Linked DNA regions of Homo sapiens: all the other regions are linked to region 2. The links are contacts of gene promoters, found by promoter capture Hi-C in blood cells and fetal thymus (Javierre and others, 2016). All regions are on one chromosome and are shown on one strand. Each heading gives the region's core, a stretch centred on a gene start or on the middle of the fragment in contact. The rest is flanking DNA. Distances are from core to core; before and after follow the strand shown. Region 1 overlaps AHI1-DT (AHI1 divergent transcript). Region 2 holds the start of PDE7B-AS1 (PDE7B antisense RNA 1). Region 3 overlaps AHI1-DT (AHI1 divergent transcript).

Region 1 (2,700 bases), core at 110-2,609, 530 kb after region 2:
ATAGCTGTTATGTTAATACTGTTATGTCTTAGAGGAGGGAAACAATTATAAAAGATAAATGTATTTTTGTTCTATTATTTCACTGGTTATATGTTAAAGAAAATGAACTTAGTATGAAAATCGCTCTCCCTGAACTTCAAGAGCTCCATAATGAAACCCAGTGATTCACCCTTTCTCAGTGAAGAATGGACTTCATAATCAAATGAAGAAAAAGCAGTTCTTCAAAATGAACAATAGTGCATTGCAGTGAAGCAAAATCCAGCACATGAAATGCAGATAACCTGCTCTAACACTTGCATGCCATTGGCTGCTGGTGTGCAGCCAAAATTTAACTGTCACCCTTGGAAGAACTGAGGAGTGAAGTCAACTCTTGATTTTCCACACTAATGGAAACAAATGTGTCTGACCTAGAAGGTCATCAATCTCCATCCATGAACGCAAGTGGGTGAGAAATATTTTTATTTCATTCAATCTAATTTTTCTGTCAAACCCTGATGCTAGGGCAAGGGTAGGAGGTTGTGAACATTCTACTGCTCTCACAACACTGTCTGGGAATTTTGCCACTTCCCTGGGTTTCTGCCAAGAATGGGCCCTCCGCCCATTGGTCACAGGGAACGACAGAGGGAGGGATAGGAACACAGGCCCGCGGGCCAAAGCCTGTGCCCCCTCCACATGCCCGCACCACTATGGCCCCCTCAATCTTGCTGCCCTTGCCACATTCCTAAGGACCCACCCTCCACGGTGTAGCCACACTTAAGCAGAAGTGGGAGCAGCCCCAGGAAGCTTCCTTCTAGGGCTGATCCAGCAGGGAATCCAGGTGGGATTGAGGGGACGCCTCTCCTTGGCCCCACAGAACCCGAGGGAGAAGCCTCCAGGGGCTCCAAGGTCCTTGATGGAACTGGGGCTCCCTCTTTGAAACCCATCCAAACGCACTGCCACCACATCCTCCCTGTTCCCTCTTTTCCCCTTCCTTTTCTATATAAACCCCTGGGAATCTTTTCCTCTCCAGAAGGCGAAAGCAACAGTCACCCTTGATGTTTCTCTTATATAATTTGGCTCTACCCAGAGACTCTCTATTGTCCTAAAGGAGTGAGCTTTTTGCCAGGAAGTTTCCTGAATTTGGGGAGTGTGGGGGAGTTGTTTCATTTGTTTTCTGTTGTCTACCATGTCATATCCTTTCCCTGAGATACTGAGTGGAAAGCAGCTTTGCTGCTTAAACAGCAAGGAGATTAATCAGTAGGAGGGAAAAGAGATGTATGTTTCTAAAAACATCATAATCAAAATATTGTAGGTGTATGTATTATTATTTGATTATGAGTCTATATTTGATAATGACTGATGTTCAGAAAATAGACAGAATAATGAAACATTATTCATTACTAAACTTTTCTATTACTTCTACCCAAACATCTTCATGCATTTCATTTGAATTAAAAAATATGGTAGTGCTGCTATTGTGTACATAGAAATTGAGAAGTCTATAGGCAATAAATCATATATTATGTGGGTAATTCCAATAAGAGGATATAAAAATCCTGAGTACTGCATTCTCCCAGTATTTATGCCAAGGGAAGACACAGATGTGTGCTGTTAAATGAAGATCCTAAACACTAATTGCATCTCCTGTATTCCTGATCTTCTAGGATTTCTACCAGAGCAGGACAAATTTGGGTCCTAGAAGGCACTATTAAGACAGATTTCCTATCTTCTGCCAGGCAACTGCTGTTGCCACCATAAGGCAATCATCTTGGGAACTCATTAATTCTGTTCCCTGTATACCTGGAGTAGGATTTCTTCCAAATGACTTTATCAGTTAAGTTTCTTTGGCTGTAAGCAACAAAGATCTTAAAATGCTAGCTAATTTAAGATTAAAGAAAATGTATTGATTGGCACAGCTGAAAATTCTAGAGTTGGAATGGTTTCAATCAAGCTTGATTACGACCTCATCCTTAGGGGCTGCCTGATGCTTCCTGACATCCTCAGTTTCTCACCTGAGGCAGCAGAAGAGCTAGCTAGCTAGCTAGCTAGCTAGAGCTAGCTTCCCAAGTAGTTCAAAGAAAAGACCAGACGTTTAAACCTGGGTCTTGTGCTGAACCACCCACTGTGATCATAGGACTCTAACCACAGCGACAGTCTGAGGTGGAGGCTGGCAAACTTTTGCCATAGAGGACCAGATAGTAAATATTTATGGCTTTGCAGGCCACATGGTCTCTGTCACAACTACTGACCTCCACCATTGTAGAGCAAAAGCAGCCATGCATAAATGGATTAGCATGGCTAAGTTACAATAAAACTTTATGGGCACTGAAATTTAGATATTATTATTTTGATTTTTGTTGAAGCCACTTAAAAATATAAAAATCATTCTTAGTTCACAGTATTTATAAAAATAGGTGGCATTTTCTTCAGTACATATTTTACTTGAAACACACAGAGTGAGGGAGAAATGGGTCCTTCAGAACAAAGTTAGGATAGTGAGTACCGAGCAAGCAACACAATGAGTATTCACCCCAGCACCATCATGCTTCATAGTTTTAGATCATGAGGGCTCAGGAAACTCATAGAACTTGTCCTGAAGCTAGAAACCCAACAAACAGCCACTCCCAGCTCCTCAGTGCTGTTCATAACCCCTACCACTCACCTCTAGAGTTATCCAGGTGGCAGAGTCCATATAGCTGTCTACTTTCTTTGACATCCACA
Region 2 (2,700 bases), core at 169-2,668:
CTTTTTTTTTTTTTGAGACAAGGTCTCTCTGTCACCCAGGATAGAGTGCAGTGGTGCGATCTTGGCTCACTGCAACATCCACCTCCTGGGTTCAAATGATTCTTTTACCTCAGGTAATTCTTTTACCCAAGTAGCTGGGATTACAGGTGTGTGCCACCGTGCCCAGTTCATTTTTTTGTATTTTTAGTACAGACAGGGTTTCACCATGTTGGCCAGGCTGGCCAAATTCCTTTTTGTCATAGGAACGAGATAGGCATAAATTCTCCACGAAGGAATTATTTCTATTGGAAAGAATATGGGAACTAAATTTTTTTATTTGCTTCAGATATGGGACTTTTGGTGAAATTTCAGTTTTCTGCGCATTGTACTTTCACAACAAGTTTTTAGAAATCACGCTGAAATTCTCAACTGAGAGATACGTATCATGATCAACCTTTGCCACTTATACTCTGATACATGTGGTGGTGTATTTCCAGATTTTTACTATGTGTGGCTGTAAAAATGCTGTTATGGGCTAGAGTGTGTCCCCTGCCAAATTCGTATGTTAAAATCCTAACCCAAGCACCTCAGAATGTGACCTATATGGAGATGGGGTCTTTTAAAAGGCAGTTAAGTTAGATGAGGCCACTGGAGTAGGCCCTAATCCATTATGACTAGTGCACTTGTATGAAGAGAAAATTAGGACACAGGCCCAGAGGGAAGACCATAGAAGTGACATCTACAAGCCGAGGGGAGAGGCCTCAGAAGAAACCAACTCCACAGATGCCTTGATCCTGGACTTTCAGCCTGTAAGACTGTGAGAAAATCAGTTTCTGTTGTTTAAGCCATTGAGTTTATGGTGCTGTGTTATGACAGCCTTAGCTGATTAAGACATATGCCCGTAATTTTATGACTCAGTAAAGAAAATATTCACTTTTACTTAATTAACCCAATCATGTTCTTTACACACAAAGAAGGAGTCTTTCAGATCTGTTACCCCAGGACCTGTCACAATGCATGGCGTACGGAGGCACTCTGTGCACACGTTGAGTTTATGGACTGTCCCTGAATGTCATTCAGATGGAGGACTTTGCTTGTGGCCCTAGTTGTGTGATATGAACAGACTTCAGCATGGCCATCCCTGCCGACGCCACCATCTCAGATATTCCATCAATGCTCCTTAGCCCCGAGAGCAGGCCAAAAAGACAAAGAACATGGTCTCCAAGCGGCCCAGCCCCAAGCAACACAACTCCCTGGGGTTTCTCCAAAAAGAGAAGGGTGCGTTGAGTGGCTCTTAGCTGTTCCTACCAGGATATACAGGTGAGCCAAGAAAAACCACATGGCTAGCTTTATCAGGAGCTGCTGACAGGCCTGAAAGATCCAAAACGGACACCTGACCCATGTGACTGTTGTCAGAACACTATCCACCATGGCAACCAGGCCAGTTTCCATCGCACATGTGTCCCGCAGCTCCACCGAAAAGGATCAAGAAAGTCAGGATTCTAAATACCAACAGCATCACTCTGTCAAAACCACCCTTGCAACCTTTCTCAGAAAAGGAAATGTAATGACAAGATGAAAGTTAGCCAGAACGGCCATGTCCAGAAAAGCTCTCAGTAGTACAGCCATCTGTCCGAAATACTCTAACCTACAAGGTGGCCACGGTCTCTTCAGAGGGTCATGGAGCTCTGCAAAGCTTGTCTTAAAACTGATTAAGGTAAAATAGTTATTAGAAGACATCTTTTTCTTTCTTAAGATCAATAGAAAAATAAACAGGGCTGGGCAAGGTGGCTTACACCCAGAATCCCAGCACTTTAGTAGGCCAGGGCAGGAGGATCGCTTGAGCCCAGGAGTTCAAGAGCAGCCTGGGCAACACAGCAAGAACTCATCTCTACTTAAAAAACAAAATTAAAGTATCAGCTATGCCATGAGCTATCTAACCAGGTGCCCCTCTCCCACCATTTCCTCTCCCTGTACCCTGTTTAGGTCCTTCACAGAACTTAGGACAATTTCGATTTGTCTTTCTCTCTCCTCGCCTCCCCGCCTATTTATTTTCTGTTTTCCCCATTAAGGGCAGGAACTGTGTTTATTGTATTTGCCATTATATATTCAAGACAAATTATGATGCCTGCTACATAATAAATGCTCAATAAATATTTGTAGAATGACTGACTGAATGAAAAAAATGTTAAAGGGGACTGAGGGAAGAAGCTAAAATATATTTAGTTTTTGTGCTGTGTACCTTTTAAGGCACTGTTGTAGGGTCACCTCATTTAATTCTTAAAACATAATAGATGCTTAATAAATATTTTTAGAATGACTAACTGAAGGAAAAAAATGTTAATGGAAACCAAGGAAAAAAGCTAAAATACATTTACTTGTTACTGCACTGTGTACCTTGTTAGGCATTGTTATATGATCATGTCATTTAATCCTTAAAACATTAGAATGCTGCACTCATTTATTAATTTATTGAGTGGAATCTTGCTCAGTTGCCCAGGCTGGAGTGCAGTGGTGTGATCATAGCTCAGTGAAGCCTCGAACTTTTGGCCTCAAGCGATCCTCCCACCTTAGCCTCCCTAGTAGCTGGGACTACAGGCATGCACCACTACACTTGGCTAGAGTGATATAATTTTAACATAATTTTTCCAGTAAGAAAACTGACATCCAGAGAAGTTTATAATTTCTTGGTGTTTCTGTAATGGTGAAATGAACTATCTC
Region 3 (2,700 bases), core at 147-2,646, 540 kb after region 2:
TACGTGGCCAAATCATTAATAATAGAGTTAATCTAACATATTAGACGTTTAAGTACAATAAGCAAAAACAAGTGAGTCAATCACGTTGACCCTATTTAACCCTTAAAAAGTAAAAAAAAAAAAATTATTGCTATATATCATAGTGCTATTATTACTACATTTTTATTAAATGTGAGCACCAAACATTTATAGGTCTCTACTGTGCCCAAGGCAAGTAATGGAACATAAAGATTAAAAAAAGATGGTCTTTCCTATCAATGAAGAGTTAACAGGGAAGATGAGACATACTTGTACAAGAAAGATATAACTAAAATGATACTGAAGCAGAAGTTAAGTTAGATTACCCAGTTCAGGTCCCCGGTTCCCCACCTGGTAGCTGTTCGTCCTTAAGCATGATACTTTTCCTTGAAGCATCAGCTTCAGCAACATTTAAATAAGACTAATAATGATACATATTTCATAGGGTTCATGTGAAAATTAAATGACACTTAAAAAAAATGAAGTGCTTAGCAAAATACCAAACATATAACAAATATTCACGGAATGCCGACTGTTAGTGCTTATGGTCCAACTAAAGGATTCTTTGATTTAATTAACTGTTATGAAGGTCTCTTTATAACTTGTAAAGTTATAAAGTTATAAGTTTGTAAACTTGAAAAAATATTTTCTGGGATTACCTCTGATCATTACAACTCATTCCTATTTAACTAATTAGTTGCATTGGACAAATAGTAATGTACATCTAAACATCATGATATACGCCTCAACAAATAAGAAAATTATTATTCATAAAATAACATTACTGAATAAAAAGTGATGAATATGGGAATGAGCAGCCCTCTGAACTAACTTCTCATCAGCCTAACTATCAGGAAAGTAGGGCTTTTAATGAAAATGGAGAATTGTTAATAAAACTGAGAACTTTTACTAATCTGTGGAAATTTAACCATAAGTTTTAACCACGAGAGTTAAGCTCACTTATCTGCAGAAATATCTATCGTGTAATATTAGTTACACTTACTTGCTCCTGGCACTATTCAAAAACAAATGCTTTCCTCTACAAGGTAATTATCATTTGATCTATAAAATATGGACTTTAGCCATAAATATCTGGGTCAGAAAGTCTTCTAAAGCAAAATACTGTAGGAAATATGTTGGAATTATGTCAGAATTATCTAAAACTTGGATCATTTATTAGTTACTTGAGCAAGATTTCTTCCTGGAAAGTTATAGCCATATAGATTTTTATGTTCACAGATGTAACATTTGAAGTGTAAGATCAAAAGATTGGTATTTCTAAGTCAAACATGATCATACAGATATGTAAAATCACCAAAGAGATTTATCTGGTACATTCCACATTTCAGTCTGTTTTCTTACTAACACATATTTGAAAAATAAAACCCAAAAAGTCCTAGTTGTTCAAGCATGTGATTAAAATTCAACATTAAACACTTTCTGAAAGAAATCTGATAGTGACACTGTTGGCCTGGTAATCTTATCCTATATACACATGACATGAGAAAAATTACCCCTGTGTTTATCTTCATTATAGTGAGGACATTAGAAAATGTAAATGTATGTTGTAACTACTAAAACTCTGGAACAACACATGTAATCTGAAAAGTCAAAGCTGATTTATTCCAGGCACCATTTAACAGAAATGACACATCAAAAAGTAATACAATATTATGAGATTTTTATTGCAAATAAGGTTCAAATATATTTTCAAAGGGAAGAGTTAGAAAAGTGAACATCTTTAAATGTCTTCAAGATTAATGGTAAGACATTCTGAATTGGCCATGTTACAGAATAGTGGAGGAATTATATAACTTACTTACAGTCTGCACATACAGATGCTATGGGTTTTAGAGACAGTTTTCATGTTGGCTATTTATTTAGACAGTGTTATATTCCCACAATAATAATGTTTTATTTCATCATCCTGTTTGAACCAGGTTTAAGCATGCAGCTGCAGCATGTTGAATTTTTAAGAAGCAAAGTCAGTCCAGTTTCATGAGTTTGGGCTTTTTATTCCATATTTGAATTTATTTTTCCTGGAAAGGAAAAATAGTTATAGCAGCACCTGGTATAGTTCCATGAACATAGTGGAGGCTTAATAAATATTTATCACTGTTGAAGTTAGAAGAAACACTGATTTGCACGCTGCATGATGTTGAATTAGGACCATATTGCTGCAAAAAGCATAAACATTGGGTGCGGCATCTGAATCTTAGACAATTTTTGAAAATGACTATTTTGCAGGAGGCCTAATCTGCCACAGAAAAAAATAAAATGTTACTTATAACTATTATTGAGATGCATTAAAATCTAAAGAACTGTTTAGAAAATCAGACTCTACAGAATGCTGGAAAGTGTTACTTTTTTGTATTGCGATCTGATTGGCCTTGGCAGGAGAGCCAGAAGAGAACCCCAGCTGTAGATCTGTAGGAGAGAGAGAAGTAAGCCAAGACTGGTGGGGATAGGGGAGGTCTGAGGTATATGACTATAAGCTCCCCCAAGTCTCAGCATCTAACAGGACATACCAAACCTGAATCCAAACCAGATTAATGGTGACAGTCACCATCTCAAGCCAGGTGGGAGCATGGCACCAGGAACTGGTTATGTGGGAAATGTTATTATCCAACAGATGACAGTTTTATGTTCGGAATGGGAGAGGTTGTCTGGGTTGTAATAGGG

What was found. Contacts are between HindIII fragments. The CHiCAGO score rates a contact against its expected background, and 5 or more counts as called.
Region 1: a fragment that was not itself captured here is called in contact with the fragment with the promoter of PDE7B-AS1 in region 2 in 1 of 17 cell types (endothelial precursors); the score reaches 6.1 in endothelial precursors.
Region 3: a contact is called between a fragment that was not itself captured here and the fragment with the promoter of PDE7B-AS1 in region 2, in 1 of 17 cell types (total CD4 T cells). The highest score is 5.8, in total CD4 T cells.

The regions. Positions count from the first base shown.
Region 1 is chr6:135,544,815-135,547,514 of GRCh38, reverse strand. All of the region lies in intron 2 of AHI1-DT (AHI1 divergent transcript), which reads right to left. Among named protein-coding and RNA genes, the nearest start is that of AHI1-DT, 48 kb to the right of the region's middle. The HindIII fragment of the contact is 1,147 bases long and covers 786-1,932 here.
Region 2 is chr6:136,071,545-136,074,244 of GRCh38, reverse strand. PDE7B-AS1 (PDE7B antisense RNA 1) reads left to right here and starts at 1,418. Exons shown (of 4, transcript NR_149042.1): 1 at 1,418-1,696. The region is part of intron 2 of PDE7B (phosphodiesterase 7B); the gene reads right to left. The HindIII fragment of the contact is 8,353 bases long and covers 1-1,677 here.
Region 3 is chr6:135,527,334-135,530,033 of GRCh38, reverse strand. The region is part of intron 2 of AHI1-DT (AHI1 divergent transcript); the gene reads right to left. Among named protein-coding and RNA genes, the nearest start is that of AHI1-DT, 31 kb to the right of the region's middle. The HindIII fragment of the contact is 3,531 bases long and covers 1-2,700 here.